Regions from separate parts of the Homo sapiens genome. Here all the other regions are linked to region 1. Evidence: promoter capture Hi-C in human tissues and cell types (Jung and others, 2019). All regions are on one chromosome and are shown on one strand. Each heading gives the region's core, a stretch centred on a gene start or on the middle of the fragment in contact. The rest is flanking DNA. Distances are from core to core; before and after follow the strand shown.

What was found. The method cuts DNA at HindIII sites, captures the fragments that hold promoters and counts their contacts. A contact is called where the count stands out against the background at its distance.
Region 2: a contact is called between the fragment with the promoter of ARID3C here and the fragment with the promoter of PIGO in region 1, in 1 of the 25 tissues and cell types used here (IMR-90 fibroblasts).
Region 3: a fragment that was not itself captured here is called in contact with the fragment with the promoter of PIGO in region 1 in 1 of the 25 tissues and cell types used here (spleen).
Region 4: a contact is called between a fragment that was not itself captured here and the fragment with the promoter of PIGO in region 1, in 1 of the 25 tissues and cell types used here (bladder).
Region 5: a fragment that was not itself captured here is called in contact with the fragment with the promoter of PIGO in region 1 in 1 of the 25 tissues and cell types used here (hippocampus).
Region 6: a fragment that was not itself captured here is called in contact with the fragment with the promoter of PIGO in region 1 in 1 of the 25 tissues and cell types used here (thymus).
Region 7: a fragment that was not itself captured here is called in contact with the fragment with the promoter of PIGO in region 1 in 1 of the 25 tissues and cell types used here (thymus).

What each region holds. Positions count from the first base shown.
Region 1 is chr9:35,095,341-35,099,538 of GRCh38, reverse strand. It overlaps PIGO (phosphatidylinositol glycan anchor biosynthesis class O), which reads left to right and starts at 2,948. Exons shown (of 11, transcript NM_032634.4): 1 at 2,948-3,384; 2 at 3,973-4,198. The coding sequence starts at 3,974. PIGO-AS1 (PIGO antisense RNA 1) reads right to left here and starts at 3,235. Exons shown (of 2, transcript NR_186491.1): 1 at 3,119-3,235; 2 at 1,395-1,779. RefSeq lists an enhancer at 2,942-3,281. The HindIII fragment of the contact is 8,015 bases long and covers 1,223-4,198 here.
Region 2 is chr9:34,626,908-34,631,105 of GRCh38, reverse strand. ARID3C (AT-rich interaction domain 3C) reads left to right here and starts at 2,040. Exons shown (of 8, transcript NM_001017363.4): 1 at 2,040-2,189; 2 at 3,020-3,409. The coding sequence starts at 3,092. RefSeq lists silencers at 1,922-2,081, 2,132-2,231. The HindIII fragment of the contact is 10,650 bases long and covers 1-4,198 here.
Region 3 is chr9:34,682,069-34,686,266 of GRCh38, reverse strand. It overlaps a transcript of PHF24 not described here. Among named protein-coding and RNA genes, the nearest start is that of CCL19, 7.1 kb to the left of the region's middle. The HindIII fragment of the contact is 6,606 bases long and covers 1-4,198 here.
Region 4 is chr9:35,425,497-35,429,694 of GRCh38, reverse strand. It overlaps the pseudogene ATP8B5P. Among named protein-coding and RNA genes, the nearest start is that of RUSC2, 63 kb to the left of the region's middle. The HindIII fragment of the contact is 5,245 bases long and covers 1-4,198 here.
Region 5 is chr9:34,755,435-34,759,632 of GRCh38, reverse strand. It overlaps a transcript of PHF24 not described here. Among named protein-coding and RNA genes, the nearest start is that of SPATA31F1, 28 kb to the right of the region's middle. The HindIII fragment of the contact is 4,947 bases long and covers 1-4,198 here.
Region 6 is chr9:34,781,574-34,785,771 of GRCh38, reverse strand. It overlaps a transcript of PHF24 not described here. Among named protein-coding and RNA genes, the nearest start is that of SPATA31F1, 54 kb to the right of the region's middle. The HindIII fragment of the contact is 3,511 bases long and covers 700-4,198 here.
Region 7 is chr9:35,408,215-35,412,412 of GRCh38, reverse strand. It overlaps the pseudogene ATP8B5P. Among named protein-coding and RNA genes, the nearest start is that of RUSC2, 80 kb to the left of the region's middle. The HindIII fragment of the contact is 4,062 bases long and covers 323-4,198 here.

The DNA.
Region 1 (4,198 bases), core at 1,699-4,198:
AAAAACATTGAATGTCTACCAAGTGCCAAGCTCATTACTAGACACTGGATTACAAAAATACCTGAAACCCAGTGGTCCCTGCTTTCACAGAATACAAGGTCAGGTAGGGAAAACAGACAGGAAGCAGACAGTGATAGAAAGTGATAAATGTGGCCGGGCGTGGTGGCTCAACACCCGTAATCCCAGCACTTTGGGAGGCTGAGGTGTGCAGATCATGAGGTCAGGAGATTGAGACCATCCTGGCCAATATGGTGAAACCCCGTCTACTAAAAATACAAAAACTAGCTGGGCGTGGTAGCATGTGCGGGTAGTCCCAGTTGCTTGGGAGGCTGAGGCAGGAGAATTGCATGAACCTGGGAGGTGGAGGCTGCAGTGAGCCGTGATCACGCCATTGCACTCCAGCCTGGCAACAGTGAGACACTCTGTTAAAAAAAAAAAAAAAAGTGATAAATGCTGTGGTAGAGGAAAGTTCTGGCTGAGGGATCTTGGTGGGAAGAGCATATCAGCTTATGAGTAGCAGCGTTGCTGATTGCCACTGAACTCAGGCTGGAAAAGTTAGCAAGTTTTCACCAAGTCAGGTCCTGGACTAGAATAAACAAAGGCTCACTGCTTGAGAGAAGTTGGCTGAAGGGTATAGTGTTAAGGGGGATGTGACTACATGGCAAGGGCCAAGTCACAAGGAATGAGATTCTTGTTGAAGGGGTTGGACATTATCCCTAGGGTAATAGGGTTTTTTTGTTTGTTTGTTTGAGACAGCGTCTCCCTCTGTTGTCCAGGCTGGAGTGCAATGGCATGATCTCGGCTCACTGCAACCTCCGCCTCCCGGGTTCAAGCAATTCTCCTGCCTCAGCCTCCTTAGTAGCTGGGATTACAGGCATGCGCCACCATACCTGGCTAATTTTTTTGTTTTTTGTAGAGACAGGGTTTCACCATGTTGGTCAGGCTGATCTCGAACTCCAGACCTCGTGATCTGCCCGCCTGAGCCTCCCAAAGTGCTGGGATTACAGGCGTGAGCCACTGTGCCCGGCCTATGAAGGGTTTTTTTCCCTTCCCATGAAGAATTTTAAGATAAAACATCACATTGGCCAGGCACAGTGACTCATACCTGTGATCCCAGCACTTTGGGAGGCTGAGGTGGGAGGATCACTTGAGCCCAGGAGTTGACCAGCCTGGGCAACATGGTAAGACCCTATCTCTACAAAAAAGAAAAAAATAACAGTAATCACATTAATGTTTTAGTTAGAGCTGTCTTGCTGCAATGTGGAGAAGGGATAGTAGGGAGACACAGGAGGCTGGGAGGACAGTGAGAAGGCTGCCTCAGTGATCCTGGAGAAGGGATGAGGTCTGAACTGAGATAAGGGGCTATGGGGATGAAGGTGGAAGAATAACTCAACTTTTTTTAAAAATTAACATATTCCTTTATTCGTTTGGTCAGTATGTGAACCTCAAATATATGCTAGGTGCTGAGGATATCATGAAGAAAACAGAATTCCCTGACCTCAATGAGCTCACATTCTACTCGGAGGGGATAAACCATAAATACGTGTAGAATTTCAGATGCTGATGAGTTGTGCTATGGAAGAAATTAAGGAAGTGAGGGGAAATTTTTCCAGGGGGTGTGGTGGTGGGAGGTGCTGAACTAGTAAAGTAGGGGATTGCAGGAAGCCTTGCTGATGTTACAGTTGAGCTTCAATATGAAGGTGATGGAGATCCATTTCGGCATCGGGAACTGAAGCTGACAGAGGAGATGGCAAATGCAAAGGTCCTGAGGCAGAACTGCTGTGGATGGAACAGAGTTAGGGAAGCAAAGAAGTGGCAGCTAGATGAATCAGAAGGGGAAGAGGCAGATAGTGTGCAGGGCCATGTAGAGCCAATGCAAGAACTTTTACTCTGAGATGAGAAACCAGTGGACGGGTTTTGTTTCTTTTTGAGACAGAGTCTTGCTCTGTTGCCTAGGCTGGAGTGCAGTAGCACGATCTCAGCTCACTGTAGCCTCTGCCTCCTGGCTTCAAGCAATTGTCCAGTCTCAGCCTCCTCAGTAGCTGGGACTACAGGTACACATCGCCACGCCTGGCTAAATTTTGTAATTTTTAGTAGAGTTGGGGTTTCAGCATGTTGGCCAGGCTGGTCTCCAATTCCTGACTTCAACTGATTCTCCAGCCTCAGCCTCCCAAAGTGCTGGGCTTACAGGTGTGAGTCATCGTGCCTGGCATTTTTTTTTTTTTTTTTGAGAGGGAGTCTTGCTCTGTTGCCCAGGCTGGAGTGCAGTGGTGCAATCTCGGCTCACTGCAACCTCTGCCTCCTGGGTTCGAGTGATTCTCCTGCCTCAGCCTCCCAGGTATCTGGGATCACAGGCGCCCGCCACCACTCCCGGGTAACTTTTGTATTTTCAGTAGAGACGGCGTTTCGTCATATTGGCCGGGCTGGTCTTGAACTCCTGACCTTAGGTGATCCACCTGCCTTGACCTCCCAAAGTGCTGGGATTACAGGTGTGAACCACTGGGCCCAGCCTCCCCTCCTCCACTCCGAAGGATTATTTGCTTAATTATTCAGTCGTAAGATTTAGTTACAGGCTTTGAAAGGAGGAGTAATGAAATCTCAGTTGGACTCAGCTAAGCAAAAAAGGGAAAATAAGTATTATCTCCATTTTACAGATGAGGTAATGCCTAATGATGACAATATGTGCGGCCAAGCTAGGATTCAAGTCAAGTTTGACTCCAGCAGCCGTGCTCTTAGTCGTAACCATGAATGGACAGTGGTTCCCTGAACTCTTCCTCCAGCTTGGTCCCCTGTCCCCAATTTTCAATTACTAAATATCCCATCAAACTGGGGCCAGCCCCACGCTCCTGGCCAAACTTCCACCGAGGTGCCGGCAGATGGCGATGGAGCCACCGACGGGCCACTCTGTCTGGCGCACGCATCTCTGTGCTGCCAGGTCGCAGGCGCCGCCGCCGCCGCACTTCCGGGTGCCATTGCAGGTGAGCCAGGGTCTCCCGAGAACCTCACCCCCCGGTATTCCCCTCACCCTGAAGTAAGGGAGTCTCCCTCTTCCCCTCAGCTCCTAACCAAGGTGCTCAGTACCGCGGCTAGGGTGCCCAGCGGGAGGCTGGGTAGTTACCGGAGGAGGCAGAGCCGGTCGCACGCCTGGGTCCCAGCGGAGGCCCAGTCGACTCTCGACCCGGGCCCCAGCCTCCTTGCGTGGCGAAGGTCGTGCCTCAGGTCTCCTGGCGAACCTGGCCGCCCGGAAGCGGAGAGTGACTCCTCCCCTTCGTCCCCTCGGTGCCCGCCAGGCGGCGCCGTCGGCTGGGCCCGGATTCCCCTGCGGCTTCGATCCCTTTCCACTGGGTATTGAGATTGGCGAGGGGAGAGGCGCAGAAACGGCGTGTAAGAGAGCCTGACTACCAATTGGAATAAGTTTCCCTCCTGACTGTTCACATGTACAGGCAGCATTAGCATTTCCTGCCTGTACATGTGAACGTTCCTATGCTCTACCCCTCGAAGATCCTGATTCAGTAGATCTGGGGTGGGACCTCATGAAACGGCGTCTCCCTCTGTTGTCCAGACTCTAGTGCAGTGGTTCAATCTCGGCTCACTGCAACCTCCGCCTCCCCGATTCAAGCGATTCTCCTGCGTCAGCCTCCCCAGTAGCTGAGACTACAGGTGCCCGCCACCCATTTTTGTATTTTTAGTAGGGACGGGGTTTCGCCATTTTGGCCAGGCTGGTCTCGAACTCCTCACCTCAGGTGATCCGCCCGCCTCGGCCTCCCAAAGTGCTGGGATTACAGGCGTGAGCCACCATGCCCAGCCTGGAAATAGGAGGAGAGTAATATTGCGAGGGGTTGGCTGTGAAATGGTTTATCTCCAGGAAGGTTTCCGGGAGGAAGTGATTCTAGCTGGGCTTGTATTCAGGGACCAGAATATCCACTGGTTCTTTGCCCCACAGTAATGAATTTACTTCCCCACCCCTATCAGGATGCAGAAAGCCTCAGTGTTGCTCTTCCTGGCCTGGGTCTGCTTCCTCTTCTACGCTGGCATTGCCCTCTTCACCAGTGGCTTCCTGCTCACCCGTTTGGAGCTCACCAACCATAGCAGCTGCCAAGAGCCCCCAGGCCCTGGGTCCCTGCCATGGGGGAGCCAAGGGAAACCTGGGGCCTGCTGGATGGCTTCCCGATTTTCGCGGGTTGTGTTGGTGCTGATA
Region 2 (4,198 bases), core at 791-3,290, 470 kb after region 1:
AAAAGGGAGCAAGCAGGGCACAAGGGTTCTGTGGATTGCTACCCTCTGCTCTCCAGTCTTCCAGTAGACTTCCAGGGCATGTCTGTCTGCCTGGCACATTCACTGATTCTCCCCTCCCAGCATCAGGGAGGGTTGGGCAGAGGAGGAGGCTTGGCTCTGCCCCAGGATACTCACACCAAACAAAGCCATGGGGGAGGAGGCATCAGTACCGACAGTGATTGGATCACTGGAGCTTCTGGAGGCTGGGGGGTTCTGATGGGCTCAGAGGTCTGAAATCTGAGGTGGAGGACACTGGGGCAGCCAAAGGAATGAATGGGGTGAGCCTCAGCGTGGCCAGGAATGGGCCATAGAGAACCAGGACTTAGTGCTGCAGTAGAAGCTGGGCACAGAAGGGTGCAGAGAAGGGTGGCGGCTGGAGGCAGGGAGAGCAGGGAGGAGGCACCCACCATGGTCAGACCCACCATGGTCAGAAGAGCCGGTGGTTTGAGCCAGAGCAAGCTGAGGCTGAGAGGAGTGGACTGATTGGGAGAGGACAAGGGAGGAGGGAGGAGACAAAGGTCGTGTTTGGATTCCTGCCTTCTGGGGGTGTGAGGTCAGAAGACAGTCTCTGGTGCCACAGTTTCATACCTATGCCAAGTGTCACCCCTACAGACACCTGCTGTTCACTTACACACTTGGCATCACCTCACAGTGTCCCTCTGTTTGGTAAGTGGTCCCCTTGGGCACAGGAAGAAATAGGAAGTATGAGGATTCCCGGGAGGAGTGGGGTCCAGGCTGTTCAGAGCAGAAATTCTGAGAGGCCTGCCACTCAGAACCCCCAAATAAGGAACAGCATTTCAGCGTCTTGGGAATAGTTAGGGGGAGGGCGCAAAGCAGTGGGCTGAGGGGGTCTGGAGATACAGATGTGGCAGTCAGGCACACATAGGTGGAGAATGTGTGTGAACATGGGCGAAGTGCCGGTCACTGTTGAAACAAACCTATGATGAGTACCAGAGGTTCATTATACTATTCACTTGTCTATGTTTCAAAATTTTCATAATACAGGCTGGGTACGGTAGCTCATGCCTGTAATCCCAGCACTGTGGGTGGCCAGGGTGGGTGGATCACTTGAGGTCAGGAGTTCGAGACCAGCCTAGCCAAAATGGTGAAACCCCATCTCTACTAAAAAGACAAAAATTAGCCGGGTCTGGTGGTGGACGCCTGTAATCCCAGCTAATTCCAGCTATTCGGGAGGCTGAGGCAGTAGAATCACTTGAACCTGGGAGGCGGAGGCTGCAGTGAGCCCAGATCGCGCCACTGCACTCCAGCCTGGGTGACAGAGACTCTGTCTCCAAAAAAGAAAAAAAAGAAAAGAAAGAAAAAGAAAAGAAAAGAAAATTTCCATAATAGAATGTCAAAAGAGACAAAAACTGTGTGTGGCTGTGTATCTGCATGCGGTGAGTGTGCAGTCAGCTTAAAGACCTCTGAGAGTGTGTGAGTGCATAGGTGTGGGTCCACCACCATGTGCACTCATGTGTGCAAACCGCAGCATGCCCGCAGTGGGGGACAGCACGTAGGCAGGGCAGGGGTGCTCAAGGCAAAGGGAGAAGCTTCTATTCTGACCAGACCCTCCACGCACACCCCAGCATCTTGCAGAGGGATTCCCCTCTTGATCACAGCGTGCCCAGGCCATTGGCACTGTGGTGACCATGTCACGGAACGTGTGAGACTGGGAAGCTATGCGCCTGAACTTGTGACAAGGTGTGTTGGTGTGTGGATGCGGCTATTTGTATGTGGAAGCCCAGTGCCGAGTGTGGGTGTCGGGGGCACGACTTGTGAGGCTGGGCGGGGCTCTGGTCCGGAGTCCGGTGGCGGTAGAGCCCTCATTTTCGCACGATTCCCCCGCAGCTTTCCAGCGCCCCCTGCCCCCGAAGCTGGCTGGAAAGAAGGTGGGAGACACCTGTTGGGGAGCTGAGAGCGGCAGATCCCACAGGGGCCTCTCCCCATGCGCCCCGCCCGCCCTGCCCCGCTCGGGTCCCGCCCCCGCGGCCGCCGCAAGCAGCGCGGCGAGTGAGCGCACAGCCGCCAGAGGAGCACAGGGCGGCGGGAGCGCACCGCCGGGACCCAGCCGAGGCCAGGGCCGCCTGGGAGGCGGGCGGAGCAAAGGCAGCGCCGTGGAGACGCCAGGGGCAGCGGGCCACGCCAGGCAGGTGAGTGCGGCCGCGGGGCGCCCGGAGCGAGGGAGCCGGGCGTCGCGACTCTGCCGCCTCCTGCCCGTCCGGTCCCGTGCCCGTCCCAGGCTCTGCCCCACCGCCCTCCATCCCCGCGACTCCTTGGTCCCTGTCCTCTGCCCCTCTCTCCGGCTGTTTTTCCCGTCCCTGTCTCTGTCGGTCCCTCTCTATTTAACTGTCTCTTTCTAATCTCTCTCTTCTGTCCGTTTCCTGCTGTCTTGGTCTTTCCCTATATCTCAACCCCTGTCTATTTGTCTATCTCCGCCTCTGTCTCTCCGTCTCTGTCCGTCTCTGAGCTACCTGTCACTTAGGTCTTTTATCTGTTGCTCCTCTACCTCTCTTACCCTCCCTGTCTCTCTACCCAATATTCTATCTCTCTCCATCTCTGTCTGTCTACCCTGTCTCTGCCTGATACCTCTGCCTCTCTCCATCTTGGTCCCTCTCAGTCTCTGTGTCACCCCACTTCTGTCTCTCCTTGTCACCCTGTTCCATCTCTATTTTCACATCTCCCTGTCATTGTCTCTGTCGGACATCCCCCTTCTCCTTTTCTTTCTCTCTCCCTTCCTTCACCATTTCCCGATGTCTCTTGGTCCCCGTCACCCTCTCTGATCTGCTCACTCTTCCAGTCCTCAGTCAATGGCCATTTGATTCCCCGGGTCTGGTCCTGTTTCTGTTCACCTCTGGGAAAGCCATCTTTCTGCCTCTTTCCTTGTGACCCCTGCACTTCCCTGAATCCATGACCACCTCCCCCTGTGTTGGGGGGCTCTGGGGGCAGTAGGGCCCAGCACCCATAATTCCCTCCCCCACAGGCGGCCCTTTCCTCGGGGTCCCGCCTGGTACCAGGGACCCCCTCAGCTGGGGGACTGCGCCTGGAAGCTGTCATGGAGGCCCTGCAGAAGCAGCAGGCAGCTCGGCTGGCCCAGGGGGTGGGGCCATTGGCCCCTGCATGCCCGCTGCTGCCACCGCAGCCTCCCCTGCCTGACCACCGGACCCTACAGGCCCCTGAGGGGGCCTTGGGGAATGTTGGGGCTGAGGAAGAGGAAGATGCTGAAGAAGATGAGGAGAAGCGGGAGGAAGCCGGGGCAGAGGAGGAGGCAGCTGAGGAGAGCCGTCCAGGGGCCCAGGGCCCCAGCTCGCCTTCTAGCCAGCCCCCTGGACTCCATCCCCACGAGTGGACCTACGAGGAACAATTCAAGCAGGTAGGACCTATGCCCTCAATGTCCGGCCCTCTTCCCTATCTCTCTCTTCTGGCAAAAGCACAGCCAGGTGATTAGCAGCCCACCCACCCCCACCACCCTCTGCAAGATGAAAAGAGACACAGAGACACGGAGACCTATAGAAAGACAGAGAGAAGATTGGAGGATAGTGACAGGGAGGGAAAGACAGATGCCTGGCTAATTTTTTAAAATTTCTTTTGTAAAGACAAGGTTTTCTTGTATTGCCCAGGCCGGTCTCGAACTCTTGACTTCAGGTAATCCTCCCACCTCAGCTTCCCAAAGTGCTGAGATTACAGGGATGAGCCACCATGCCCAGCCAGGTGTAGGGAAGGCAGTCTAGGGGCTGGGGATTCCAATGCCAGCACCACCCTGCCTACCTTCTCACACATCAAGTCACAAGGTCATATTCCAGTGACCAGTGGGGGTGACCCAGTTGCTTCCTCTGTCTTTGGAAGCAGAATGGAGGTTATCACTCACTTGGCAGGCTGATACACCTTTCCTTTCTTTCCTGTCACCTCCTCCCTAACCCTGGCCCCATGCAAATCTCCCTGGCCTGAGTTCCACGGATGATAGTTCCCAGCCTGGGATGGCCACTACAGCCGCAGTATGACTAAAGGGCTCCTCCGCAACTCAGAATGACAAGACTTCATTCACAGGGCCTTAATCTGAGGTTCTTTCTCCCTGGAGAACCCTTCTGGGTGTTATTCTAAGGACACTACTCAAGGCTGTCACTATGAAGGTGTTACACAGGGCTGTGTCTCCAGGTGTGCT
Region 3 (4,198 bases), core at 1,250-3,749, 410 kb after region 1:
AAACTCAGAAACCACCAGAAAACCTTAGATATAACAGTTTCATGAAGGCTCAGGACTCCTAATTGGGAAATTTCCTGCAAGTGCCCCTCTGTAGGAATCAGCAGGCATTTCTCCAGTCAGATAACTTCCTAGGTGATCCCTGAGACTTTGTCCACATGGAAGGACATGGCTCTGAGTATTAGCTAATTCACCACTGACGCTTACCAGGTACTGGGCACTGCTTTAAGTGCTATTACCATTCTTATGTTGCAGCTGAGAAAACTGAGGTACAGAGGTTAAGTCGCCTGCCCAGGATAGACAACTAGAAAAAAGGCAGAGCTGGCGTTCCTGTCTGGGCAGTTTGGCTCCAGAATATCTACTCTGAACTATTACACATACCACTTCTCTGAGTTGACCTATCTCCTAATTACAAATGGAGAACAGTACAGCAAGGCCAGATGTGGAGAAGCAGCCCATGGAAATAGGGAAAGCCACTACTTTTGGGTGCTGGCCATGTGCGAGTCTCCAAGCTGAGTCCTTTCTTGGCACTACATCACTGCACCCTCAAACGATCCCATGAGGTATCATTAGTACCATTCTATGTATAAGGAATTTGAAGCACAGAGGAGAATGACCTCCCAAGTCAACTCAACTGGTGAGTGGCAAAGCTGGGATTGCAGTCTAAGCCTGACTGATGGGCAGCACTTGGACTGAGGGCTGGGGGCTGGGAAGTCTAGTTGGGGTAGAAAAGCTCAGCTTGCTAGAAAGAGCTGGGGAAAAAACAAGAGAGGAAGCTGGTGGCCAAAGGTGGGGTCCTAACACTTGAACCCAGACACAAAGACACACCCTAGAGGGCTTCCAGCTTCCTGGGCCTCTGCAGTAGAAGGAGCATCAGCTTCCCCAGAGCCTCAAAGAGGGAGTTTACTCAGGCCTCAGTTTTCCCAACAACAGAGGAGTAGAGAAGGGGATTGGGCTACAGCAATGCCCACCCTACTCCTATTCCCAGGGGAGTATCAGATGCCAGGACCTGGTGATATTGAAAGGAAATGAGGAATGTAGGAAGAGTGCTGGGGATCTGGAGGGTAGGGGTAGAGGCAGGACAAGGAACCTTGTGACAGGCAGGGCTCCTGGAAAGGAGTGGGGCCAGGCGTCTGATCGGCAGGTGGCAGAGGACCTCTGAAGAGCAAAGCATCTGAGGGCAGCAAGGCAGCATCAACTCTCAAAAGGCCCATTTCTGAGGGACACTTCCATCTCCCAAGGGGCCAGGGGCAGGCAGGGCAGGGTTGGAGGAAAACAGCAAGGACAGAACCTCTAAGGATCAGGGTAGATGAGGGAATCAGGCCTCCCCACCCTACTTCTAGGGCCTTTGGGTCTTCCCCGTGGCTCCAGGGGGATGCAGAAGATGTGAGCCACCCTCGGCTCCAACCTGGCAGAGGTGGGAAAGCTTTCACCCCAGCCACAGGAACACTACCATTCTGGGACAACCAGATCTCCTAGGGCTTTTGATCTCAGAATCCCAGTCCCTGGAAATCTGAGCCTAACACAATCCAAACCCCAATCACCACGTCGACCTCATTCCTGCCAAACCATCATTTCAAGGGTCCTCTCCCAAGAGGAAGCCAGCCCTTCTGTCAGGGCCTCAACACTGCAAAGTGCTCATCAGTTGAGGAACCCCCATTCCTGATAGGATGTCCCAATGCCTATTATGTCCTCATTGCTGACAGGACACCCATTAATGTCAAGGTCCCCCCATTACTATCAAGCCACCATTCCTCTCAGGAAACCCTACCACTGTCAGGAACACTTAAACCTGTGAGGCAGGACAGCAGCACTGCACAACTCCAGGGGGCACCATCCTCTCTGTAGTCTACGTAAATGGCTCCTGGTATGGCAGCACTGAGTGCCAGAGTATCACTCTGAATGTTAGTGTAAGGCCCCCAGTAGTCTCAGCGCTGCCATCACATAGGTTTCCAGCCCTGGGAAAACCCCTCACGTCTAAAGTGATGCCTCATCACTGTCTGCAACCCAGAACACTTATTCATTCCAGGCACTATTCTAGGTGCTGGTGATACGATAGTGAACAAGATAGATATGGTCTTGGTCTTCATGAAGCTTCCCCCTCTCCTCCAAAAACAAAAGGCAAATAAACAAAAGTGTGGATCAGGATTCTTACTTGCAAGCCACTGAAACTCACTGGCTGATTCCAACAGAAAAGGAGTTTATTAAAAAGACCCTGGGAAGATGCAGAAAATAGCGAGAATAAGTGAGCCTAGGCAGCCAGAACCACTCCCAGAGCATACGGTACAGTACAGATGGTCCAGATAGGCCTCCAAGACAGCATGGTGGCACCACCAAAAGGCGATGCCAAGTGGCCAGGACAATGCTTATGTCCAGACAACTGGGGCCCTTGCCCTGCATCCCATGTTTTAGATGACCCTGATCTGGCCCTCCTCTAATCATATCTCTGGACACAGGAAAAAAAAGTCCACAGGACGAAGGGAGCACCCACCCAGAACTCATTCTTTTCTTCTAGACCATATTTCAGGAATTGAAAAACAGAGAATTTCCTGCCCAAATGCCCCCAAGTAGCTTCCAATATCATTATGGGCCTCTTCCTCAGATTTGTTCTTCCTAGGATAGACTATGTTACTGATATACACACTACCAGGTCCAGAGGGTAGCCAAGAAGTAGCTATTTGCAGGGAATGTAGAAGGAGCTTGTATGTATGGGGCTGGAGTGTTTACACCCAGACACGTGAGACCCTTCATGGTGCAGGATAGAACTGTGGATAGGAAGAGGAGAGGGACAAGTGGAGGGCTGGTGATGGGCTCTCCCCTTACCACCTCATTCCATCATGGATCTCCAAGGAGTTCAAGAATTCTCAACTTGAACCTAGCCTCCAAGTTGTTTTGAAAGTATATATTTTGGCCGGGCATGGTGGCTCACGCCTTTAATCCCAGCACTTTGGGAGGCCAAGGCGGGTGGATCACCTGAGGTCAGGAGTTCGAGACCAGCTTGGCCAACATGGCAAAACCCTTTCTCTACTAAAAATACAAAAATTAGCCAGGTATGGTGGCGCATGCCTGTAATCCCAGCTACTTGGGAGGCTGAGGCAGGAGAATCTCTTGAACCCAGGAGGCAAAGGTTGCAGTGAGCTGAGATTGTGCCATTGCACTCCAGCCTGGGCAACAGAGCAAAACTCTGTCTCAAAAAAAAAAAAAGAGAGAAAGAAAGAAAGTATATTTTTCAAGGTAAGGAAGACAGACACATTTTTTATTTGACAACTTGTTCGCTTGATTTTTACCTTTTAAATATTTAGATAGTGGGCCTCCATTTGTACTATTGCCCCAAGCCTCACCAGTGTTAGGTGGTCAGCCTGCCAGATGCCACCTCTGGAATCATAGCTACAGCTGCCCCTGTAAAATAGACATCACTTTCACCACCACGGCTACCACCACCAAAAATGGATTCTCTAATAACCCCACTCCTTCACATCACTACTAGTTTCCTATTCACAGTCCTATGATTAGCAAAGCCTAGGTCATGTGTCCAAGTCCTAGTGCAGAGGGGGCTGGGAAAATTAGTATGTGACTTTTGGGGATTCTATGATGGAAAGCAAAGTCTACCAGTAACCAAGAGTAATATAATAGGAAGTTTCTCAAACACAGAAAGGGGCTAACTTTGTGGGCAATGAAAATAATAATAATAAATATCTCTATAGTCCACACTATGGCTATCCAAGATCAACATACATCCTTCTTCCCAAACCCTAGACTTCTTAGAAAATTGAGCGTATCACCTAACATAATATCACCTTTGTTTATACAGCCAAAAAAAATTCACCCCCCCGAAAGACAGACAACTCAGAGCCTTAGAAATTACCACATCCATCTTAGTCTGTTCAGGTAGTCATAACAAAATTCCATAGACTGTGTAGCTTAAACAACAGAAATTTATTTTCTCACAGTTCTGAAGGTTAGAAGTCCACGATCAAAAGTGCCAAGATGGGCCAGGCTCAGTGGTTCATGACTGTAATCCCTGCACTTTGGGAGGCCAAAGCAGGAGGATCATTTCAGCCCAGGAATTTGAGACCAGTCTGGGCAATGTCTCCACAAAAAAAAAAAAAAAAAAAAAAATAGAAATAATTAGCCGGGTGTGGTGGCAGGTGCCTGTAGTCCCAGTTACTTGGGAAGCTGAGCTGGGAGGAACTCTCGAGCC
Region 4 (4,198 bases), core at 831-3,330, 330 kb before region 1:
CAGTTGTACATTTTCTCTTTCATTTTGGATTTTAGAGTCTTTTAAAAATAAAAGTTTACCTAAGGGTTTGTCAATTGTGTTTATCTTTTCAATAAACCAATTCTTAGTTTCATTATTTTTTCTTGTTTTTCTATTCTCCATTTTATTTATTTTTACTCTAACTCCTTCCTTCTGCTAACTTTGGGCTTAATTTGTTCTTTTCCTAGTTCCTTAAGGTATAAAAGTAGGTTGTTTAATTGAGATCTTTCTTTTTTTTTCCTTAATGTAGGCATTTATTGCAATAAACTTTTCTCTTAGAACAACTTTTGCTGCATCCCATAAGTTTTGTTATGTTTCCACTTGTATAAAGGTATTTTTATTTCACCTTTTGGATTTTTTTTTCATCCATTGGTTGTTATTCTAGTTTCATACCATGTAGTTAGGAAAGATACTTAATATACTTTCAATCTTTTTACATTTGTTAAGACGTGTTTTGTGGCCCAAAATATGATTTATACTGGAGAACAGATCCATGTGCACTTGAAAAGAACAATATATTCTGCTGTTTGGGAATGGAATGTTCTGTATATATCTGTTAGGTCCATTTGTTCATAGTGTTATTCAAGTCCACTGTTTCCTTGATTCTCTTTCTGAATGATTCTACTGTTGAAAGTGGATTATTGAGGTTCTCTACTTTACTGTACTGCTGTCTATTTCTCCCTTCAGTTCTGTTTATCTTTGCCTTATACACTTAAAGTAATTATAGATAGGTAAGTATTTAGCATTGCCATTTTGTTAATTGTTTTCTGAGTGTTTTGTAGTTCGTTTGATCCTCTCTTGCTGTCTTCCTTTGGCCTTATACATTTAAGTGCTCTGTTGTTGGATGCATTTATATTCACTAGTGTTATATCCTATTTATGAATTGGCCCCTTTATCATTAAATAATGACCTTTCTGTCTTTTATGACAGATTTTTCTGACATAAGCATAGCCACCCTTGCCCTCTTTTGGTTACCATTTGCATGGAGTATCTTTTTACATCCCTTCACTTTCAGCCTATGTATGTCCTTAAAGTTAAAGTGACTCTCTTGTGGGTAGCATATTGTTAGATCTTATTTTTTTGTTTTGTTTTGTTTTTTCATTCAACCATTCTAGTCAGTCTTTTGATGGGAGAATTCAATCTATTTACATTTAAAGTAATTTAAGATAGGTATTTACTATTGCCATTTTGTTGTTTTCTGAGTGTTTTGTAGTTCCTTTGTTCCTCTCTTGCTGTCTTCCTTTGTGATCTGATGACTTTTGTAGTGGTGTGCTTTGATTCCTATCTTTCTCTTTTCTGTATCTACTAGAGGCTTTTTCTTTGTGGTTACCATTTGTACAAATTGTGACCAAGATGAAACTGGGATGTTCAGCTAGGTTTACCCAAGGATTTGAGAGTAAACAGATTTAGATTATGTACACTAATTTGGATAGAGTTGACATTTTTGCAATATTAGCCCCCTATCTGGTAACATGCTATATTCCTGTGAGAGAGACAGAGAGATAGCTGTTGGTGTCCTCCTGGGACGCCACTCCTTTGTGCATGATGATCATGTCTATATAGTCAGCTTACCAGCAATACATAAGCAAATGGCTATGAGTCTTCTCTGGACTATGCTTACAACCCAGCTATGCAGCTTGTAGTTTGTTCTACTGTACTAGTACATTTCTTCCTTCTTATATTTTATTCTTGTGATTATTAGGATGAATGGTTACTGGATGATTACTAGTTGAATAAACATGGGAGAAGTTTTATACTTATGTGAGATGGGATTGATATATTTTGTGGAGCTTTATTTTGACTGGTTAGTGGCTTATTTACAACTGTGTGATACAAGGGCTTCTGCTAATCATTGAAGCTTAGCTTCTCTGAAGCAGTGGAATATGCATAGCTCAGATAATTTAGTCACATCTAGGATTTAGAGCTGGTGTATGGCATAGGCCCTTTGTGCAGGGACTTTCTCAAGGGGCACAGATAGCTACCTGATTAAGGCAGGGTACCAGAGAAGTACTGGTGTTTCTACTAGTGTTGAGATTCTCCAGTCCTTGGACAGGCTATGTTCATACTCAATATATTAATGGATTACTGAATAAAATCAGTTTCTCCCATGCCATTTATCCCTTCAGACCAGTAAAACGTTTCTATTTGTTTAAAAATATTATTTTATAACTTTTGATAAAGTTATAATATTTTCTTACTGGATTTCACATTTCTTATTAAATTTAATCCTAAATATCCCTGATTATTTTTTAACCTAACAAGGGTCTAACAGCCTCTGCCAGCAACTTATCTGGGTGAAACAGGCCATTCTCTCACTAGTTCTGAGGGATACCTGGGGTTCAGCCTCTATGCAACAACTGAATACTGAACACATATCTCCCTCTTTGAGTTGAAGAGTAAAGTAAAGCAGTAGATCTCAAGGTTCAGAGCCTGAGTTGCTAAAGACAGATTGAGACTCCGAAGTAGGGGCAGGATTAACCTTCACCTTGTTCTGGCTCTTTAATGACAGACCTGCCATGAAGAAAGAAGAAGGAGAAAGGAAAGTAGGATTTTCACCAGGAGAAGAGGAATTGGGGGCTAGAAAGCCAGATTTCCTAAGAGGTCTACGATGAAGGAAAAGAAGGAATGATGAGAAAAGTGGTTAAAACATCACTTTGCACAACCATCTAAGAGAATAAACTAAATGTTTGAGAGAGAAAAAAGGCAGGCTGTAAGGAAAGAAAGTAACCAGTCTTGTTTGAGATCATAAAGGCAGGAAGAAAGTTTTCAGACTGGATAATAAAGATTAATTCAAGATTCCCTGGGGCATGTAAATACTGTAAGAGAAGACTGGGTGACTAAGTGTTTTCCCCATTACTTGTTAATTCAAAGGTTATTCCTGTTTGGCTGAAACGAGAATGACAAAATGTGAATTATGGGTGAGAGGTTAGAATGACAGAAGGTTGGAAATTAGTTGAGACAAGGAGAGTCTAGGAAATAGTCTAGTTGAAGAAGTCCTAGCTATGGAACTCAAGGGGACAAACACCTACTTCTAGCCACTGGTGACTGTGGAAAATTCATTCTCCATTAGGAACTGAGGGTTGAATCTACAGCCTATTCAAAGACTGGTTTCAAAGGACCTGTCCTAAAAGCTGGCCTGCGCATGGTGAAATAACTGAACTAAAAGGGCCAGACATCTTGGTGAAGTGAGGCAAGCTGGTGTTATAAAATGTGCAGTAGACTTAAAGTTAAAAAATATAGAAAGCTCCCATAGTGGTTAAGAACACAGACAATTGAGTCAGGCTGTCAGGGTTCAAATCTTAGTCTTCCACTTCAGAGCCTGAGTTGGCAAAGACAGATTGAGACTCCAAAGTCAGGGCAGGATTAACCTTCACCTTGTTTTGGTTCTTTGATGACAGACCTGCCACAAAGAAAGAAGGAAAAAGGAAAATAGGATTTTCACCAGGAGGAGAAGAGGAATTGGGGGCTAGAAAGCCAGATTTCTTAGCCTTGGGAAAGTAACTTAACCTGAGATTCATTTTATTTTTCTGTAAGATGGAAATGATAATAATATCTACTCATAAGGTTATTGGGAGGATTAATGAGTTAAGGCACACAAAATATTTGAAAACAATTCCTAATAATTAAAAATGCTCAGGACATTTTAGCTATTCTAGACTGGACTCTGCAACTAAATTGTTAAGTGACCTAGGGCAAGTCACTTTTCATTTCTTGGCTTTAGTTTCTTCATGTGTAAAATGGGGTAGTAAAACCTACTGTATATACTAATAGGGCTAAATGAGATGATAAATGTAAAGTGCCTATCTGATTCCTGACAAATCAAAAGTACACATTTTCAACCTGAGAAAAGGTGAATGAAAAACAAATAAAAAATGAGAACCACACAAAAGTACACATTAGGCTGGGTGCAATAGCTCATGCCTGTAATCCCAACACATTGAGAGGCCAAGGTGGGAGGCTCACTTGAGGCCAGGAGTTCAAGACCAGCCTGGTCAAGGTAGTGAGACCCTGTCTCTACAAAAAAAATTTTTTTAATGTAGCTGGCATGGTGCCACACACCTGTAGTCCTAGCTACATGGGAGGCTAAGGTGGAAGAATTGCTTGAGCCCAGTAGTTGGAGGCTGCAGTGAGCTTGATCATGCCACTGCACTTCAGCCTGAGTGACAGAGGGAGACCCTGC
Region 5 (4,198 bases), core at 862-3,361, 340 kb after region 1:
CAGCAGCAGCTGCAGGGAGCCGGAGCTGTTTGGATAGGTAATATGGTGCTCTGCTCACCTCTTTTTCAACTTATTGGCGAGGAAGAGGGTCCCACTTTAGGATTCTGGGGATGGCTGAACACCCTACACCCAACACTGGACAGAAGAGATTGACAGCATTTTACTACTCACATGTACATTCACCACTCACAGAAGGAGGACTCCGCACACTATGCAGGGCCGCATGAGGTTGCACTCAGGAAAAGAGGGAAAAAACAAGGGCCATAGGAGGCAGGTTTTATAATAACATGATGAGGTGTTGGTGCCTCAGGGAGGATGTGATTGGCTTGTTTGAACAATTCTATGGATTGGGTACAGCTGGTCCAGCTGATAGAGAAACTAGTGAGTGGGGGTGAACATAACTGGGCAGAGCTGGTGAACTCATGGTTAGGCCTTTGGAGTCCTTTAAGGTTCTAAGATATCAAGGCAGCATGTTTTAGGCCTAATAATACTTACAGGGCAGCTCAGTGACAGCAGCAAGATGGCTGATTAGAAACACCTGGCATTTGTGTCCACTACAAAAAGGAACAAGGCAATGAATAAACAGCTAAGATTTGACTGCAGTATTGAGGGGAGAGCGGTGGAGTGCAGTGGGGGAGTGGAGATGCGCCTGTGGTGACGGGAGCAGTGAGGAGGCACCCAGCCTCTGAAGCCCCACCTCCCTCGCCAGATTGGGTTAGCCTAGAATCAGGTAGGACTTCCCTTTGAGGGGAAAAGGTAAGCAGAAGATCCTCCCCAGTGCCTGCTGCCACTGCAAACACCCACAGTCCTTACTACAGGAGAATCCCACAGTCCTCACAAGTCCTGAGCCCAGTATAGAGAGCTGCCTAATATTCACACAGCTACATTGCCCTGCATTAGAAGAGCAAGATGTGTACTGCCTATCCCCCGCCAATCCCCTGTGAGCCAAGCTGCTGCAGCGTGATGCCATCTTGAGACAAAAGCCACCTCTGAAGTGTACCCTGCTCTGGGGGCCAGTAGCCACTGCACCTCCCCAGCACTGTGGCTCCATCTTCATTATGTCAAGCCCACAAGGGTTGCTGAATGCCGCAATCCCAGGTGCATGGAACCTGGGACCAGGATCAGCTGTGACTTGGGTCCTGCACAGCAGGGAAAGCAATCCCTGCTGCCTATACTTCCAGCCAGAGGAACAGTCTGCCAGTTCACCTAGGGCAAACCCACTCCTAAGCTGGTGAACCCGCCCTTAAGCCAGCCAAGCCACTGTGTGTCCTGCCCCAAGCAGGAGCTGTCCCCAAACCACCAAACAACTGATATGCCCACAGGCTGGTGGAGTAGCTACACGTCCACACCCAGAGCCTGAGAAACAGGCCCCATGTCCGTTACCCTGTTCCTGCCCAAGGCTCCATGCCTGCTATCAAGGTCTGAGAAACATCCCTGCAGGGCTACTCTTGGCAAAGATGCACCCAGGCCAGCTGAGCAGCCTTGTGCCTATGCTCCTGGCCTGATGAATAGCCCCATGGGAGACTCAGCAAACATATCCCCAAGCCAGCCAAGCAGACTTGCGATGTCATCTTGGACCTGAGAAATAGCCCTGTGGGCTGCCCTCAGCAGACATACACCAAAACCAGCTAAGAAACAATATGGCTATGTCCCAGTCCTGAGAAATAGCCCATGGACCACCCCTGCCAGGTACACCCCAAGGCAGACTGAGCAACCACACATGTTCTCCTAACCAGAGTAATAGCCCTATGGCCCTAATCCCAGCAAGCCAGACCCCAAACTGGCCAACACACCATGTGCATATATATGCACCACTAACCTGAGAAACAGCCCAGCAAGTCTACCCCCAGCAAAGGAGCACCACCACTTCCATAAACTATTACAGCCTAGCCCACTGAGACACATGCAAACATCACTAGCATGGATTACAACTGACGAAACTATATAGAGACTACACTTTTGCATCCACCTAGAACCAAAGCCAATGCACTTCACCAAACCAACACCCCAAGACCCATCCATATGAATAAGCCTTTCCCTATGAAATCTAACCCATAAAATGAGAAAAGGTGACTGTTCCACCAGATTCGTAGAACTCAACATAGGGACACATCAAACATGAAAAAGCAAGGAAATATGAAATCTCCAAAGGAGATTATCCCTGTTTGCACATGACATATTATACATAGAAAACCCCAAACTATACCCTGCCAAAAATGTTAGAGATGATAAACACATTCAGCAAAGTTGCAGGATACAAAATCAACATACAAAATCAGTAGCATTTCTATATGTGAACACCAAACTAGCTGAAAAAGAAATCAGGAAAGCAATCACATTTACAAAAGCTACAAAAAAAAAAAAACTAGAAATAAATTTAACCAAAGAAGTGTAGGATCTCTACAAAGAAATCTATGAAAAACACTGAGGGGCAGGGTGCAGTGGCTCACACCTGTAATCCCAGCACTTTGGGAGACCGAAGTGGGTGGCTCATGAGGTCAGGAGTTCAAGACCAGCCTGGCCAACATGGTGAAACGCTGTCTCTGCTAAAAATACAAAAAGTGCCTAAGTGTGGTGGCGGGTGCCTGTAATCCCAGCTACTCAGGAAGCTGAGGCAGGAGAATTGCTTGAACCTGGGGGTTGAGGTTGCAGTGAGCCAAGTCACGCCACTGCACTGCAGCCTGGGTGACAGAGCAAGACTCCATCTCAAAAAAGAAAAGAAAAGAAAAGAAAAACACTGATGAAGGAATCTGAAGAGGATAAAAGCAAATAAGAAGACATTCCATGCTCACAGACTGGATGAATTAATATTCTTAAAATGACCATTGTACCCAGAGTGATCTACAGAGTCAATGCAATCCCTATGAAAATACCAATGACATTCTTCACAGAAATAGAAAAAAAACCCTTAAAATTTATATGCAACCATAGAAGACCTCGAATAGCCAAAATCAATCCTGAGCAAAAAGAACAAAGCTGGAGGCATCACACTGCTTGACTTCAAAATATACTACAAAGCTCTAGTAGGCAAAACAGCATGGCACTACCATAAAGGTGACACATAGACCAATGGAACAGACTAGAGAACCAAGAAATAAATCCATGAATTTACAGCCAACTGATTTTCAACAAAAGCACCAGGAACATACTCTGGGGGAAAAACACTCTCTTCTTAAGTGGCAAAATAGAATATCCATATGCAGAAGAATGAATACTCACCATACAAAAAAATCGGGCCAGGCACAGTGGCTCACACCTGTAATCCCAGCACTTCGGGAGGCCAAGGTGGTTGGATCACCTGAGGTCGGGAGTTCGGGACCAGCCTGACCAACATGGCAAAACCCCATCTCTACTAAAAATACAAAATTAGCCAGGCGTGGTGGTGCACTGCTATCATCCCAGCTACTCAGGAGGCTGAGGCACAAGAATCACTTGAACCTGGGAGGCAGAGGTTGCAGTGAGCTGAGATCATGCCACTGCCCTCCAGCCTGGGCAACAAGAGCGAAACTTTGAGAAAGAAAGAGAGAAAGAGATCAACTCAAAATTAATTACAGGGTGAAGAGTAAGACCAAAAACTTTAAAACTACCAGAAAAAAACATAAGAGAAATGCTTCAGGACATTGGTCTGGTAATACGTTTTATGAATAAGACCTCAAAAGCACAGGCAACAAGAGCAAAAATAAACAAATGAGATTATACCAAACTGAAAAGCTTCTGCACAGCAAGGAAATAATCAACAGAGTGAATAGACAACCAACAGAATGGGTAAAAATATTAACAAACTATTCATCTAACAGGTGATTTATATCCAGATTATACAGGCTGAGCACAATGGCACACACCTGCAATCCCAGCTGCTATTGGGTGGCTGAGGCAGGAAGATTGCTTGAGTCCAGGAGTTCAAGGTTAGAGTGAGCTATGATTGCTCTACCACACTCCAGCTTGGGCAACAGAGCAAGACCCTGTCTCTAAAAATAATAAAATTAAAATATTAATAATCATAATTAAAATTAAAAGCAACATACAAGGAACTCAAACATCTCAACAGCAAACAACAACAATCCAATTAAAAATGAGCAAATGATCTGAACAGACATTTCTCAAATATACAAAAAATATACAACAAATATACAAAAAAAATGCTCAACATCACTGTCAGAGAAATGCATATCAAAACCAAAATGAGGTATCATCTCAT
Region 6 (4,198 bases), core at 1,206-3,705, 310 kb after region 1:
GAAGCACATTTTATTAAAGGCTAAAGTATAAAGGTGGAAGGATGCAATAAAAATCTTCAGGTAGGGAGGATGGTGACCTGACACCCTAAGAACTTGGTGGCAGACTATAAGCCTAGAAGCTCCATACTTGATACGGGGGTGTGTATTACTTCCTGTACCTATTGAAACAAATTACCACAAACTTAGTGGCTTGGAAAAACACAAACTTATTCCCTTACAGCCTTGCATTCTTAGGTTATTCTTCAGTTACACAGAGACTTCAGAGGAGAACATCTATTCCAAGTTGTATAAAAATTAATACTTTGGTAGTCTAAAATGTGTTTTAAAAAATTGGTAGATGCTATGGTTTGAATGGTTCCCCTCCAAAATTCATGTGTTGCAACTTAATCCCCGTTATGGTGGTATTAAGAGTTTCGGACCCTTTGGGAAGTGATTAAGTCATGAAGGCTCTCCCTCATGAACGGATTAATGCCCTTACAGAAGAGCCTTCAGAGAGAGTTTGTCTCTTTTTATTCATCTGCCTTCACCTATGTGAGGACACAGCATTTGTCCCTTCTGGAGCACACAGCAAGATGCCATCTTGGATACAGAAAGAACAGCAAACAACAAACACCGCCAAACAGACACCAAACCTGCCAGCACCTTGATTTTAGATCTCCCAGCCTTCAGAACTGTAAGAAATACATCTCTCTTATTTATAAATTACCCAGTCTGTGGCATCTTGTTACAGGAACGCAAGCAGACTAAGATAGTAGAGGACACATTTAAGTTTGTGTGCTGCTGTGTATTCACATTTTTAAAAGCTAAAACACATTTCAAAATTAAATTAAAACCAAACACTTGTGAAACAGCTGAAATATTTTAGCTAAATTTTACAGAAGACCACATTAGAAAAAACTGGTTGACTCAATATAAATGATCCTTAGTGTAATTCAATTTCTAGTATTCTCGTATGTCTACAAAATTGGTCTTAGTCCTTTCACTATCTTGAAACTAAGAAAACATATGTCTTACAAGGAGGATATTTGCACTTAATAATCACTGAAAAGTTGGGCAGCATTCATGTGGTCTCATCATATTTGTCTTCTTTGCCACCTGTTAAAGATCTGGAGCACAAAAGCAGGACAGTGGAAATCGTCAGATAAGTTTATGTTAAGAAATAGCTGTGTATAATACTGTCCTGGTCATGGAAAATTAAAGGTCAGAAAACAGACACTTTCAGACTATGCATGTGAACTATGTGTTAACAGTGCTGTCTCCCTGCACCTACCATACCATCTTATGGTACCGTTTGAGGCTGAACATAATTCAAATTGGAATAGGATAAGGATTTCCTTCACTCCTTACAAGATAAAAAGGTCATAGTACATTTAAAAATATTTTCCCCAGATATATTATGCAAATTCTGAAATGGTAGAATAAGCAATCATTTCCTACTCCCTGAAGCATGAACTCCTAGTTGAGAACATCACTAACAAGTTGAAAGCATACCTGCCCACGCATGTCTTATGCACTTTCACTTGTGCACATACAAAACCATATAACTCCTTGTACAAGAAAACTTAATTACTAGGCAAGACGCCTCCACCAGCTCTAGCAGCAAGCCTATTTATGGAAACTCTTCCTTAGAGAATATCTTATATCAAAATGATATTGCCAGCCAGCCATGCAGGGAGATTACCTACAGAAGCTACTCTGGCACTGACTCGAGCACAGAGGAAATAGCTGTCAAACCCACTAGCTGCTGGCTTCTTGGAGGCAGTGTTTAAAAACTATCTCAAAGTCTATGCTAAAAAATATAGAGCAGAAATTTCAGCAAGTAGATGGAGAGTTTTACTGGTCTAAGAAAAGTTTTAATGATACCTAAAAATTACAAATGGGCTAGAACAGGAAAGGCAACATTATACATCAATTAAAAAGTTAAACTGGAGTTCAGGTTGTATTCCAGAAACCGCTATTCACTTTATTTGATATTCTTTATAAGGGAAGCTTGAGGTTATTAAGTCACTGCCCTCCCAATGCAGTATTACATTTTCTGTAATCTGTAGGAAATAATATCAGGAAACTGATCAAATTCCAAGTCCCTAAATATTACCAGAACAACTTATTGATAAGAAAAAGATTATTTTATTTCTTACAGTGATAAGGGAGACATAATATGGTAGTTTCTTGGAGGAGAATGAACAAGATTTGATTTATTCAGATTTTGAAGTCTAGTTTAAGGCAGGTCTGTCAGAGCAGGGGTGAGTGCAATAGAGAGGGCTTAATTAGGATAGGGTAAGGGCTATGATAGAATATTAGGATTGGTGAAAAAAGAAAAGAGGTCGTTTTGAAGCCAGGAGCACAAAGTCTTGGGATGTGAAGACAATTGAAATTAAAGTCATGTTAACGTAGATAGTAAGCTGTGTAGGAGTAAATGGTTTCAGTTCTCAATATTAAGAGTCCGGAGAAGAGAGGATGGATTTTAATAAGTTATCGGGCCCTTTCATGAAATCCATGTGGATAAGATGGCGCAGTGTAACTTGCTTCCTTTCACGCTTATGACTAAACCTGGTGGTCCTGGTTGAAGCATCAGCCAAGTATATCACTGTCAGGATTTAAGTTCTAAGGACTGAACTGGGATGGGGCAGCAAGGAGCAGGAAGATCCAAAGTGAATTTAAACAGAATTCTTAAGCAAAGCTGAGAGTCAAGCTGAAAAATGAGGATCAATTGGGAATTCTGGAGGCAAGAGCAATGCTACAAATAAGAAAAGAGATAGGTCAGAAACAGGTCAGAAACAAAACGCAACCTAGATGAACACAGTTTGCAGCTAAATCAGGAAGGGCTTAGATGGATGTTTTCTGGGATTGGAGTTCAAGTATTTGAGGCTTTTCTGATGCCTGGTGCTTGGATAAGTCAGACTAGCTTAAAGATATAGGTTTGGAGCAGGGATCCATCCCTCATCCTACCCCATCCCCAAACCCTACCACTGCTATGTAGGCCTCTCCCAATCAAACAGTAGGTTGGGTGTGGAGCTTTCTCAAGTTTGTTTTGCATAAGACTTGGCATGTTTGAGAAGCTCTTCCAAACATGGAAGAAGAGCTACTTCCCATGAATTCATAAATGCCTCTCTAAGTCAGACCCTTACCTCTGCCTCAGGGATTGGAGTAGTCTATATCGCTGTTGGAAGTCTAGTACTTCCACTTCATGCTCTTGCTCTCTACCTCTAGTGACAGGATGAGTCACTGGACTGGAAGGCAGATTGGATCTGTATTTTTAGCCATATGGCATTCAAATATCTCTGTGACCTTGAATCAGTCCAAGAAATAATCCTCAACTTTTCATAAGCGGGGTATGGGATTTGGTGGGGTGAGGGAGGCAAACTGCTAGAGAATAGAGGAGCTGTGGATGGAGTGAACTAATGAATTGTTGAGAGATGTGTGTCTACCAGAAAACAAACCACGAGTGGTTATTATTATACGAAATTGCTGAGAAATCCTCCCCTGTCCCTCCTCTACCCTACTTACCCCAAAATCACTGAGTCTTGCTCTCATTTTTCAGGCCTCTGACATGTGACCATCCACTGATTTGCTAACTGCCTCTGTGATCTCCACTAATAATTATCCACTGAGCACTTCAGTGAGTTTTGTAACCCAGCTCTCGTGCAAGTTGGAGGACTTCATTTACTCCCTCAGTTTCATCATTCCTCCTTCTTCAGGAAAGAATCTCACATTCCAGAGCTAGCTCATGTACCCTGCTTCCTGTCCCATTATGGGTGGAGATTTGGACATTTTTGCCTAGAACCCATGATTTCAGGAGGTTCTTCTCTCCCATGTGGGGACAATGAATGTAATTTCAGCCCTTCTATTCTTACTGTGCCTGGGAAATGTCACATTAATAATAGAAATAATACAGAGTTTTGCAGATAACTGCTGTACTTACCAACCTATTGATTGCAAGAGTGGAATTCACTGGCACATGCATTGTTGCTGCTTTCTCCCCCTACAGAAAATGATGGGGTTGAACTAACACATTTCCCAACTACTTCCTACAATGCTTTTTTTTTTTTCCCTAACAGCCTTACTGAGATATAATCCACATACCATAACTTCAGCCATTTAAAGTGTACAATTCAAGGGGTTTTGCTCTATTATTCATTATTTTAAGTTGTGGTGATGATAGATAACATAAAATGTGCCATTTTAACCATTTTTAAAT
Region 7 (4,198 bases), core at 1,104-3,603, 310 kb before region 1:
TGGCATGTGCCTTTAGCCCCAGCTAGTTGGGAGGCTGAGGTGGGAGGATCACTTGAGCCCAGGAGGCTCAACCAATGAGCCTCAAGTTGCAATGAGCCAAGGTCACACCACTTCACTCCAGCCTGGGCAACAGAGTGAAACTCTGTCTCAAACAAACAAACACTGTAGAACCCAAGCACTACAGGAATTCAAGAAGGAGAGATAAAGGGGGGCAGGGCAGAATTGTTGGAAAGAGCTTCATGGAGAAGGACTTGCACTAAACTCAAGAGACGAACACAGGTTAATTAGGTAGAGATGCAGGGGACAGTTCTGTAGGCAGGAAAAAGGACTTAATGAAAGGGTTGGCATTGAGACTAGACAAGTTGTATGATAGTACAGTAAGTACGAAAATCTGAAGGAGGCAGAAAACAAGAACTTCAAGTCAGGACTTTAATATTAGGATAATGATATTAAACTTTATCTCAGAGAATCCTACAAAGATTTTGAGTAGGGGAAAATGTGATAAACTGGAAGTTCAGAAACATTAATATGATAGATTTACAGGGGAACGGAGTGCAGACAGAAAGACCACTTAAAAGACGGCTATAATAGTCAACACTTAAAATGATGAAAGGCTGAACTAAGAAGTGGTAGAAAATAGAAAGGAGAGGCCCGGCATGGTGGCTCACGCTTGTAATCCCAGAACTTTGGGAGGCCAAGGCGAGTGGACCATTTGAGGTCAGGAGTTCAAGACCGGCCTGGCCAATATGGCGAAACCCCGTCTCTACTAAAAATACGAAAATTAGCTGGGCATGGTGGTGCATGCCTGTAATCCCAGCTTCTTGGGAGGCTGAGGCATGAGAATCACTTGAACCAGGAGGTGGAGGTTGCTGTGAGCTGAGATCGTGCCACTGCACTCCAGCCTGGGCAACAGAGCAAGACTCTGTCAAAAAAAAAAAAAAAAGAAAGAAAGAAAAAGAAAAGAAAATAGAAAGGAGAGGGTAGACAACCAAGATGTTAGAACTGGCCAGTATTTATGTACTGTAGATTTTCCAACCAGAATAGGCCTGAAGATTCTGAATATTCAAAATAGTGTTACCTGCCAAATGATTGGGTTTAGCACTGTCGTTTTGTAAATTCAGTGGAATAGGCCAAAATCTTGGGTAAACCAGTATTAATTGCTTACTGCTCAAAATAGCAGAAGCAGTAAATCTACCTGCAATAGGTAGTCCTAGCCTACCTGTAGGGATTTACCAGGAAAACTGGTTTCAACTCTTTTTCCTTGGTAAAAGGTTTGGCTTTTGAAATAACACACATTTATAGATGAAGTTCTTAATTATCTTTCTGATTGAAAGTGTCAAGCTCTTATAGATTATTTTGATTATTTTTTACACATTTACCAGTGTTTATCATGTGGCAGATACTGTCCTAAATGCTTTATAAATATTACCTAATTTAATCCTTACAGCAACCTTATGTGGCAGCACTTTTATTATTATCCCCATTTTACAGAGGAGGAACTGTAGCAGAGAAATTAAGAGATTTGCCCAAGATAACGTGGTAAGTGGTGGAGCTAGGATTCAAACCTAGACGGTATGACTCCAGAATTCATGCTCTTGACTACTATACTTCCCATATGGTATTTATTTCACTGCATTTATGGCAGATATTTTATATTTATTGGTGCTATTAAATATGCTGTTAATTAATGTTTCCCCTCGCTAAACCATAATCTCGCTAAGAGCAGAAATTCTGTCTAGTTTTGTTGCCATTGTATTGCCATACCTAGCACAGTGGCTCGCACTTATTTAATAATCAATAAATATTTGTCGAATGAATTGATCAGTCTTTATTGATGATTATTACATTTTTCATTTGCCTGGAACTTACCACACCCTAAAGTATTCTGGCTCTCCATATTTTCTGTTCATAAGAATATGCAGAGCAGTTGATTATCTTCTGGGTCCTTTAGCCCTTTAGCTCTCCTGAGGGTAGCAGAGGACTCCCTGGTTTTCCTTTGGATGGAAGTTTCCTGACTTTCTACTTCTGGAACCAGGGCCAGTGTCCTTGACATGGGCTTCCTCCAGGATGAAATCGGACAACTGCCCAATGACAGCAAGTAAAGAAAGTATACTCGCCTATAATCCCAGCACTTTGGGAGGCCAAGGCGGGTGGATCACGAGGTCAGCTGGAGAACATACTGGCTAACGCAGTGGAACCCCGTCTCTACTAAAAAAAAATACAAAAAATTAGCCAGGTGTGGTGGCGGGCACCTGTAGTCCCAGCTACTTGGGAGGCTGAGGCAGGAGAATGGCGTGAACCTGCGAAGCGGAGCTTGCAGTGAGCCCAGATCGCGCCACTGCACTCCAGCCTGGGCAACGGAGCGAGACTCCGTGTTACTAAAAAAAAAAAAAAAGAAAGAAAGTACACTGTGACCTTCAATCAGTGAACTGATTTCATTCTGCACTTTCTCCATTCCTCAAAAGGAAGCCTAAATCTAAATCTTCCTTTTTCAAAATTTCACATTAGAAATAATTTGTTGTTGTTGTTCTTACATAACAGGCAGTTCCATTCTGAAAGATGGCTGGAGTGTGATTATTCCTGCTCCCTTTAGGATTTTTTTTTTTTTTAAGATAGAGTTTCCCTCTGTCACCCAGGTTGGACTGCAATAGCACAATCTTGGCTCACTGCAACCACCACCTCCCAGGCTCACGCGATTCTTGTCCCTCAACCTCCCAAGTAGCTGGGACTATAGGCATGTGTCACCATGCCTGGCTAATTTATTTATTTATTTATTTATTTATTTATTTATTTATTTATTTTATTTTTAGTAGAGACAGGTTTTGCCATGTTGGCCAAGCTAGTCTTGAACTCCTGGCCTCAAGTGATCTGCCGGCCTTGGACTCTCACAGTGCTGGGATTACAGGTGTGAGCCACCACGCCCGGCCTCCCTTTAGAATCTTGATTCACCAAAGGAAAGCACAGAAATGGTATGGAAATCCTCCCTTACTACAGAGACAGATCCATTTGTTCTGTCCACAAAAAGGCTGCAAAGGAGGACCTTATCTGCCTCAGCAGCCTTTTTTCACACTGATCACCTCTTTTTAGCAGGAGGCAGTTATGAAGAATGGGGAGAGAAGGAAAGGTACACAAGCTTTACTGGTGAATTTCCAAATATAAAAGTTAAGAGAGTACTCAAATTAGGATTTTCAGATGATAAAACAGTGGAGCTTGTACTTCTAAGTACAAAGTATTTACTTTTGAAAAATATATTTCCTTTCCTGATCAGTTGTTTGGTAGGTTAACAATCTGATTGCCAGGTTGATCTGCCATATGTGCATGTATACACACACACACACACACACACACACACACACTTCAGAGGTAATAATAATGACATACTCAGATACATTTTCCTGAGTTTACCTACGTTCATCTTGTCTGTCCTCACTTGGGCTTTTAAATAGAGACATTGCAGAGTAGACCAACTATAATTCCATGGAATTTCTATAAAGGAAATAAAGATTCAGAATATGAGAATTTCTCATGCTGATACTGTGTCATTCAAACACATTCTTAAGAAACTTGGAACTTGATCCCTGAAGTCCAAAATGATCTATCTCTAAGACACATATGGTAGTTTGGAATTCACTTTATTTATCTTCATCATAAAGTTATAGTTTCAAAGCTTGGGAAACAGATTTCATTTCCTGACAACTAAGTTGAAGTTGATGACTACAATTGTCAGAAAAGTCATCTGAAACCTAGAAACAGGTGAAATAAATTATTGGATGATCTTTTAGTACAGTTTTGTGTTTATATCTTTGATTAGTTTTCTATTGACTGGACTATTTTATAACTCGTTAGGGCAGAGGTTAACTTATAGATTTTCATCTAGTAGTGATAAAAATGTTTTATGTCTGGTGGAAAAGATGACTCCAAAATTTATGACTTATTGCACTTTAGGACCTTAATTAGTTTTGTATATCATTCAGAAATCGTATTTTAACATTCCTTTATTAAATTGCCTATAAATATTTAGCTCTTAATTTTTCATTTGAACTGATCTTAATATCTTACTGGTTCCCTCATTAATTAATAAATAAAATATTGGAGACCTATTAATTTCGTATTTATATAAAAGTCAAATTTTTTAATACTTGGAAAAATTATACTTTATCAAACCCCACGATTTGCTATACAGACATATCCTTCTTTG